Linked DNA regions of Homo sapiens: regions 2 and 3 are each linked to region 1. The links are contacts of gene promoters, found by promoter capture Hi-C in blood cells and fetal thymus (Javierre and others, 2016). All regions are on one chromosome and are shown on one strand. Each heading gives the region's core, a stretch centred on a gene start or on the middle of the fragment in contact. The rest is flanking DNA. Distances are from core to core; before and after follow the strand shown.

Region 1 (3,305 bases), core at 604-3,103:
TATGTGAGCCTCCCTCCTAGAATGGCAGTGAGAGAAAGTTCTCCTAGACAGGTATGATATCACTGCATTTTAAAGATCTTACCGAGCCAGTGGTCCCCTGCCCCGTGGGAGGAGAGTGTGGCTTCACTCTTGGCCCCAAGGTCACTAAAACCTAGACTGTGCTATCACCCCCCTGACCCGTGTGTCTCACCTTGGGCAGGTCTGTGGCCCCACGGATCCGTTGCGCCACCTTCTCTCCATCGGGGTGGATCTTGGCCACGTGTTTCCACATCCTTTCCCAGGTGGCCTCATCCACAGGTAGCCCACCCCGGTTGACAAAGAAGGGGACGCCTCCGTCTCGCAGGTCCTCTTCCCCTTCCTCTTCTGGCTCCTCATCTCTCTGGGCTGAGGTTCCTTCGCTGGTCTCCAAACGCCTGACCCCAGAGGGGGCGGTGGCCGCAGCGGACGTTGGAGTGGCACCGCTGCTGCCACCCCCAGCCACCTTCTTCCCCCCTGGCATCCCTAAATCTTCGAGGGGGGTGGTGGAGGCGGGAAAACAACTGGCTCACAAGAGGCCTCCCACACACCGGCTGCAGAGATAACACATGGCCAGAGTGCAAGGCGCCTTTAAGAAATCAGGGCGTGGCTCCTGTACAATAAAATACGACTTGATAAAAAAAATCAGTGCAATAAGGTGAATTAGGGTCCGAGGGGGTGGGTTGTCTGGGGTCAGCCTTGGAGGCCTTGTTCTGTTTGAAAAACGGAATAAAGAGAACACACCCCAACTTGGCAGCCGTCACAAAGCACCCCCATCTAACTGCGAGAACAATGACGGGCAGCAGTGAGGGCTGGCAGAGCGGAGAAAAGTCGGAGGGAAACTGAGGCCAGACAGCTCGGACCAGCGGCTGCAGAAAGGACAGAGTCAAGGCACGGGTGCCCACTGGGCGCCCTGGGTCTCAGTTTCGGAGGGAACAAAATCCCCTACACAACTCTCGCACGCTCACATCTGCGCGCGCCCCAAGGAAGACCGAGGCGACTCCCGGCCGCGCGAGCTCGGAACCAAGACCCCCGGGCGGGAGAGCGGCGCTGGGGGGCGATTTCTCCGACGCGACGAGACAAGTCCGGGAGCCAAGACTCGCAGCTGGCCGGGAGCGGGGAGGGGGCGCGCGCCGACGCGCACATTCCCCGCCTGCGGCCAACTCCCTGCACAAAGTGGGCTTTGTCTGGGTCCCCTGTCCCCTCGTCCCCAGAAACAGCGGCGGAGTCCCCAGAAAGGGAGCGGGCGCGGCGGGGAGGCGAAGGCTGCGAGCCCCGAGGCCCAGCGGGTCCCCACTCGGGCGCGTCTCAGCGGGAGGACGGCTGGCACCTGGCGCCGCGCTGCACCAGCCGAGCCATCGCAGGGCACGGGGCCCGCGGCTCAGCGGGACCGGCTCGGGCGGCGCGCAGGGGCCAGGCTGAGGTCACTGAGCGGCGGGCTGCGGCCGCGGGGTCGCTGCCTGGGACTGGCTGCAGCATGGGCGGTGGCGCGGCCCGGGCGGGCGGAGGATGCTCCGTGGCTGTTCGCTCGGGCTGCAGCTGCCCTGGCTGAGGGTGGAGGAAGGACCGCGGGGCGGGGACCGCAAGCCCGGAGGCTCGCGCAGCCTCGGCCGGCGGATGTAGCTGGAGGCGAGTGACGAAGCCGGGCGAGCGCGCGCTGCGCTGGTGCCTGGGGAGCAGCCCGCCAACGCGGAGCCCGCCAACGAGAAGCCCACCAGCCGATCGCTGCTCGGCGAAGCTGGGGCCGCCGCTGCTGCAGCCCCGCCGCCCCTGGGCCCCGCTGCCGCCGACCACGTCCCCTGCCAGCCAGCCGCCCACCAGGCTCGACTACGGCCCGCGCCGCGCATGCGCTCCGTCCCCCCCTTAAAGGGCCAGCGCCTTCGCGCCCAGTCCTCCGCCCCCCGCGGCGGTGCCTCTGTCCCAAGTTACCCCAAGGACGCCGGTGGGCATTCGCTCCCTCCTCACCCAGCTGTCAGGGCGCCGCGAAGCCGGTGCGAAGCTGCGGAGGACGTTTTCAACGTGCCAGAGGGAGCGCAAACTCCATGGAGATTCCTAGCGCAGAAGGAATTCCTGCGGTCGGGAATTTCTTGAAAAAGATTCTTCGCAGGGGCCCTGAGCCGGTAGGACCGAGAGCACTGGCCTGGAAGACTGGGATTCTAGACCGGATTCAGTGCCTGTGTTGCTTTGGGACGTTCAGCAGTTCCCTTCCCTCTGTAGGCCTCAGTTTCCCCATATCCCAGCCGAGGTGGTCACAGTGAGTGAGCGCAGAGTCCCTCCCAGCGCGCACAGTTCTTAGAGGAGGACATCTAGGGATTGAGACGGGGGGTCACTATCTCTGGAAACGAAAAGGGTTAAAAGTCACCCTGTTTTATTCGATTGCCTGCACTGGTGGGAATGGGGTGCGCAGAGCTCACCCCTAGACCATCTGCCTAGACCGGGCTTTGGACGCTCTGGACCCCGCGGACCAGGGTGGGACCGCGACGTGGGCGTGGGAGGCAATGCTTGGGGAGGGTCCGCTGGCCTAGAGGAAGGTGAAAGTACAACCAGCTGTGGTGCGTGGTTGGACACTGGACGCACCCTCCGCCTCCCTCATGCCATAGAGTTGTAAATGGTGGGAAAGGCACTATCTCTAGGCTGAAGCCAAGAACTTTAGGAAGAGACGGCCGAGTGTGTGCTTTAAGATGCTCCCCCTCTCCCCTGCCTGTAGTTAGCATGAATCACAGTCTTGTGGGAGAATGCAGATTCCTTGGCCTTAGCCGGCAGATTCAGATTCCTTAGTTGTGGGGTCGTTGCATTTCTTGACAAGCTGAGGTTACTACACAAGGGCTGGGTTAAAGGCCTTAGAGAGACCCCAGGGCCTCAGTGGTTTCACATCTGTTCTCTAAAGCTGTCCCTAGTATCTGAACTTTCTGGGTACCCTGTGCTCCCGTAGCAACCTCTTACTACCTCCAGGGTCAGAAACCAAGGGTTATCAGTGATGGGAAGGATTGCAAGACTCCAAGAAAGTTAGTTCAGCCTGGATCTTCTTAAACTCACTAAGGCAAGAAGACTCCAAGCGTAGAAAAATCACTAGGGATCAACAACTATCACCCTGTATTGTATAAACCAAGTCTCAGAGGGTAATTTCCCCAAACTCACACAGCTAGTAAGTGGCAGAGCTAGAATGTGAACAGAAGTCTTACTTCTTCAGACACTTGTTTTTCACTCTATACATTGCTTCTTGTGTTAGCCAAGTGGTGCTGGTTTTAAAATTGGCTTGCAAGCTCTTGACCATTCTTTTCAAAAGATGG
Region 2 (3,078 bases), core at 408-2,907, 320 kb before region 1:
ACTCTGGCAGTCTCCATTTTAGAGATCCATCTGAATGAACCATCTCAGATGCTAGTTTATCTTAGAGATACCTGAAAGAGTTCTTGTTTGTCACCTGGAGGTTGATTTGGACAATCATGGCACAGGTATTATACTACCACTCGGCAGAGTCTTCTTTAAACTTTTAGCTCTCACCTTAATCAATTTAAGAGTGAGCTTCTTTTTGGTATAAAGACTTTGGTAGGTCAGGTGTGGTGGCTCACACCTATAATCCTAGCACTTCAGGAGGCCGAGGTGGGCAGATCACTTGAACTCAGGAGTTCGCGATCAGCCTGGGCAACATGGTGAGACTCCATCTCTACTAAAAATACAAATAGTAGCTGGGTGTGGTGGTGCACACTTATAATTCTAGCTACTCTGGAGGCTGAAGAGGGAGGATTCTTTGAGCCTAGGAGGTTGAGGCTGCAGTGAGCTGAGATCTCACACTACACTCCAGCCTGAGCGACAGAGTGAGACCCTGCCTCAAAAAAAAAAAAAAAAAAGAAAAGAAAAGAAAAGAAAAAAAAGACTGTGGTAGCTATGTATTGCTTTTTGTCATCAAGAATCCTTTCACCTGTCTCCCAGTGGTAGTATGCTACTTTCCTCTTGGGAACCCCACTTCCCCATTCTTGATGTCCCACAGACAGAGTTGACTCCACTCCCAGATCCAGAAGTGGTTATGTGACTACAACCTGGCCACTTAGGCCATCACATTCCCCAGCCATGGTGTCTTGCTTGATGATGGATTCATGTTCAAGTCAGAGCCAGTTCAGTGGAATGAGACTTTTGCTGGGACTGCAAAAAGAAAAGCACTTCATGTTTTTTCCTCACAAGTCTCAGGCATAGGAAGAGGTGGGACTGGATTGCTGGCAGCCATCTTATCCCAACAAGAAAACGCTATGGAGAAGAGCAGCATCGGGGATAAAGATAAAGCCAAATCTTGGTGATATTGTTTGAATCCCTGGATCAAGCTTGGCCTGAACCAGCACAATGCCTAATCCCTGGTCTGCTTAGTTATATGAAACAGCATCCCAATTTAAAGTCATTTAGAGGTGAATTTTCTGTCACTTAGTGCAACCGAGAGAGTAATAACTGATGCGAAGGCCACATAGACTTGGCCTTTTTTTTTTTTTTCCTGAAGTATAAATTCCCTTAGCATCTGTGTGGCCCAGCACTACACTCTGGATCTCCTTAGCTGTCTGGTCACTGAATGGGGACTGCTACTTGGCCGTGATTCTCAACCAGGGGTAATTTTGCCCCCAAGGGACAGTTTTGTCATGGAGTTGGGGGAGGCGCTACTGGCATCTTGTGGATAGAGGCCAGGGATATTCCAAAACATCCTACAATGTACAGGGCAGCCCCGACAACGAAGAATAATCCAGCCCAAACTGTCATTAGTGCTCTGTAGATGGTTTTGGCTGCTATAACAAAATACCTTAGACTGGGTAATTTATAAACAATGGAAATTTATCATTCACAGTTCTGGAGACTGGAAAGTCCAAGGTCAAGGCGCCAGCAGATTCAGTGTCTTGTGAGGGCTCATTCCTCATACATGGTGCCTCCTCTGTGTCCTTGCATGGCAGAAGGGGTCAACAAGCTCCTTCAGGCCTCTTTTATAAAAGTCTTAATCCCATTCATGAGGGGAGAGCCCTCAGGACCTAATCATGTGGCAGGCAGATTGTCTGAGGTCAGGAGTTCGAGACCAGCCTGGCCAACGTGGAGAAACTCTGTCTCTACTAAAAAAAAAAAAAAAAAATAGCCTGCTGTGGTAGTGCACACCTGTAGTCCCGACTACTCGGGAGGCTGAGGCAGGAGAATTGCTTGAACCTGGGAGGTGGAAGTTGCAATAAGCCGAGATCACACCATTGCACTCCAGCCTGGATGACAGAGCAAGGCTCTGTCTCAAAAAACAAATAAATAGGCCGGGCGCGGTGGCTCACGCCTGTAATCCCAGCACTCTGGGAGGCCGAGGTGGGTGGATCAAGATGTCAGGAGATGGAGACTATCCTGGCTAACACGGTGAAACCCCGCCTCTACTAAAAATACAAAAAATTAGCCAGGCGCCGTGGCAGGCACCTGTAGTCCCAGCTACTCGGGAGGCTGGGCAGGAGAATGGCGTGAACCCTGGAAGCGGAACTTGCAGTGAGCCGAGATCTTGCCACTGCACTCTGTCTGCCTGGGCGACAGAGCGAAACTCTGTCTCAAAACAAAAAAAAACAAAAACAAAATAAATAAACAAACAAATAAATAAATAAATAAAGAGTGTTAGGAGCCTTCTCTCCTGTAAGCTGTGAACAACTAAGCTTGTTTAGGTCCTGAAATGTCACTGTCATTGTCAGCATGATAAATGCTTTGTGCTGTAATAATACAGAGAAACAGGATGTCTATTCCCCAAAGCCTCTGTGATGGAGAAGGTGGGCTTTCCAGAGGCTCTGACTGTGGAATGTGTCTAGAATCCTCTGCATGTTTTCCAGGTTCACCTCCACACCCTCATCTCTGCTCAGCCGGGTCCTTGCTAGGAGCAGGAACCTGCCTGGTGGGTCTCTGATGGCAGCCCCATGCTCTGCAGACCCCGGACTCTCCGCAGCCCCAGCTCCTGCCTTGTCCTGTTGTCTTCCACCAAGGGGCACCCTTCTTTAAAAAGCTGGACTCTTTTTTTTTTTTTTTTTTTTTTGAGATAGGTTCTTGCTCTATCACCCAGGCTGGAGTGCAATAGTGCAATCACAGCTCACTGCTGCCTCCACTGCCTGGGCTTAAGTAATCCTCCTGCCTCAGTCTCCTGAGTAGCAGGGACCACAGACACACACCAACACTCCAAGCTAATTTTTAAAAATTATTTGTAGGGATGAGGTCTCGCTATGTTGCCCAGGCTGGTCTCAAGCTCCTGGCCTCAAGGGATCCTCCTGCCTTAGCCTCCCAAAGTGCTGGGATTACAGGAGTGAGCCACTATGCCCGGCCCAAGACTGACTCTTAAAAAAGGACAGAGCTAGTCCCAAGCTTGTGCAAGGACAGTGAGAGAGGGGAGACTCAGAAGTAGCCAATTTTTCCCCCAGTAATTAA
Region 3 (3,093 bases), core at 554-3,053, 330 kb before region 1:
TCTGCCTTCAGATAACTTAAAATCTGATATGGGAAATAAGACGCGCTGTAATAAATAATATGAAAGAGAATGGGATAAGTACCAGAAGATTGTGAACAAAACCTAATTAATAAAATAAAGGGAGAAAAAAAAACTTTGTTTTTTTTTGGTTGTTGGAGTAGGAAGAGATCAGTAGGTAAATCTTTAAGGATAGCTAAAAGTTGGATTTGCAGTAATGGAAGTGGGTGAGAGTACGACGCACACAAAGCAAAAAAAGAATCAATGAAATAAGCAAAAGCATGAGGTGTGGTCCTATCTTAGTTTTCCGAAGGGGCAAATAAATAAACTATGAGAGGAATGAATTAATGGCATTTGCAGCAACCTGGATGAGATTGGAGACTTATATTCTAAGTGAAGTAACTAAGGAATAGAAACCCAAACATCGTATGTTCTCACTCATAAGTGGGAGTTAAGCTATGAGGATGTAAAGGCATAAGGATGATACAGTGGACTTTGGGGACTCAAGGGGAAAGGGTGGGAAGGGGGTGAGGGATAAAAGACTACAAATTGGGTGCAGTGTATACTGCTCAGGTGATGGGTTCACCAAAATCTCACAAATCACCGCTTAAGAACTTACTCATATAACCAAAATGCCACCTGTTCCCCAAAAACCTATGGAAATAAAAAATTTAAAAAACAGCAGCATGGATACTAGGCTTAATACCTGGGTAACGAAATCATCTGTACAACAAACCGCCATGACACAAGTTTACCTATGTAACGAATCTGCACACGTATCCCTGAACTTAAATAAAAAACAAAACAAAAATAAAATTCAAAAAAAAAAAGAATAAAAGTCTGCCTTCAAATAACTTACAATCTGATATGGGAAATAAGACATGATGTAATAAGCAATATGAAAGAGAATGGGATAACTACCAAAAGATTCTGAACAAAACAATAACATTAAGGGAGAAAAAAAAAACTTTCTTTTTCGGTTGTTGGAGTAGAAAGAGACCAGCAGGTAAAGCTTTAAAGACAGCTTGAAAGTTGGGTTTGCAATAATGGAAGCAGGTGAGGGGATAATGCATACCAAGCAAAAAAGAATCAGTGAAATATGCGAAAGCATGAGGCCCTCTTAGTCCTCCGAAGGGGCAAATAAACCAAACTTCCTTGACTTTACCTACATCTTGAGCAGACAGCCATGCTGTACCAATAACTTAAGCTTCAGACAAGTATTGTAATGGAACCAAATGAATCAAGACTAATGATAGGCATAATTTTTATGATTATTTTATGCTATGATTCTATATAATTAGATATACAGAATAAGCAATTCATGAAGATTGATAGTGAATATTTTTATGTAGCTAAACCACCGTAAACGTTTTTCTTCCTTTCCTATTAATTTACCAAGATTTGTAAATCAGCATCTATTGATAGTTTACTGGTGCCACGAATTCTTTAACCTTCACTCACTTTACTCTCTTTACTCTTGGTTGGAGTAAGGACCCTATGATGGATGGGGTAAGGACCCTGTGATGGATAGTGGGTTCTGAAGCACCTATTCTTCTTGCTGTAGGGTCCTTTCCAATTCAAGTTCTCCCCAGTACCATTGTGGTCTAGGTTCGGTTTCCTACCACCACAACCAGCAGGGGGAGACATGCGCCCTTAAATCCTACATTTAGGGACTTGCGAATGTTTCTTTTTTTTTCCCATCTACTTCTTGAAATTGTAACCTGCCTATCCGTGTGAGGATTTGAGTTTTTAACCCTGCCTAGGATACCATGAAGAGTCAGCCATGGGCCGAGTTTTATTTGAAGATATTTTAAGTGTATTATGTTATACAATTTAAAATATTTATAAACGATTGTTTAATAATTGTTGAATTTAAAATTAAAGTCATTTAAAAATATTTAAAAGTGGGCCAGGCGCAGTGGCTCACACCTGTAATCCCAGCACTTTGGGAGGCCAAGGCGGGCAGATCACTAGGTCAGGAGTTCAAGACCAGCCTGGCCAACGTGGTGAAACCCCGTCTCTACTGAAAATACAAAAATTAGCTGGGCATGGTGGCATGCGCCTTTAATCCCAGCCACTCAGGGGGCTGAGGCAGGAGAATTGCTTGAATCCAGGAGGCGGAGGCTGCAGTGAGCTGAAATTGTGCCACTGCACTCCAGCCTGGGTGACAGAGCGAGACTCCGTCTCAAAAAAAAAAAAAAAAAAAATTTAGAAGTAATTAAAATAGTGTAATAGGAGACGGTGAAAGTCAGTGATCTAGTTTCAAATTCCAGCTCCTATCAATATCATTTTACAAAAGAAGGGTCATTTTGATATCTTTTCCGTATACACAGAAGGGAAGATAGGACATAACCTCACAATTTAAAAATAGAATAATTTCGGGTGTATGAAAAACTTAAAGCTTTTAGTCTTATTTTTCCAGTTTGGCTGAAGACTGGTGAAAACATCACCACAAGGACTGGCAACAGTTCTTGGACTGGTGTTTGGGAACCATTGATTTCATTTTCCTGAACCTCAGTTTGGCCGTCTGTAAAATAGTTATCCTGTAGTTTGAATCTAGCATCTAGCATTATTGGTGCTGATCACTTCATAAGTCTTTAAATAGGATTTGATGGAGTGGTAAGTGTGTCTCATGGGTCAGTGAGAGAAGAGAGGGGCTCCAGCCTGTGTGGGCAGGGGGATCTACAGGTGCCAGATGGCAGAGGCAGAGGCCAGTGATAGTGGGATGTATGACCTTTTTTCCCTTAGCAGTCAGGTAACAAGGCCCTCACCAGCCAGACTGGTTCTTGGCTCATATTTTAGGGAAGTATTTGGCAGAGCAGGTACACTAAAAGGGTAATATTCAGGTTATGGTCAGGCTGTTCATATACAGGTGAAGGTTTTGATTTTAGAGACAGTGTAAACCCTTCCCACATAGCCCTCTGTCTTCTTGCTGATACTTGAAATTCCTTTAAGGAATTGCTTGACACCAAGATACTCTAGAACCCAAGACAAATTCTTCCATAACAACACGTAGTGCTTATTATTTGCCAGATGCTGTCCTAAGTGATTTGCCTACATTTATTCATTTAATCCTCCCACTGTCTATGAGATGGG

What was found. Contacts are between HindIII fragments. The CHiCAGO score rates a contact against its expected background, and 5 or more counts as called.
Region 2: a fragment that was not itself captured here is called in contact with the fragment with the promoter of VASH1 in region 1 in 6 of 17 cell types (monocytes, total CD4 T cells, fetal thymus and 3 more); the score reaches 6.1 in monocytes.
Region 3: a fragment that was not itself captured here is called in contact with the fragment with the promoter of VASH1 in region 1 in 2 of 17 cell types (monocytes and M2 macrophages); the score reaches 9.4 in monocytes.

The regions. Positions count from the first base shown.
Region 1 is chr14:76,760,016-76,763,320 of GRCh38, reverse strand. VASH1 (vasohibin 1) reads right to left here and starts at 1,853. Exons shown (of 7, transcript NM_014909.5): 1 at 191-1,853. The coding sequence starts at 499. RefSeq lists silencers at 1,327-1,596, 1,697-1,886. The HindIII fragment of the contact is 7,359 bases long and covers 1-3,305 here.
Region 2 is chr14:77,076,744-77,079,821 of GRCh38, reverse strand. No RefSeq gene overlaps it. Among named protein-coding and RNA genes, the nearest start is that of LINC02289, 2.1 kb to the right of the region's middle. The HindIII fragment of the contact is 1,332 bases long and covers 992-2,323 here.
Region 3 is chr14:77,093,408-77,096,500 of GRCh38, reverse strand. It overlaps LOC124903350 (a long non-coding RNA gene), which reads left to right. Exons shown (of 2, transcript XR_007064275.1): 2 at 1-36. Among named protein-coding and RNA genes, the nearest start is that of CIPC, 3.3 kb to the left of the region's middle. The HindIII fragment of the contact is 1,194 bases long and covers 1,207-2,400 here.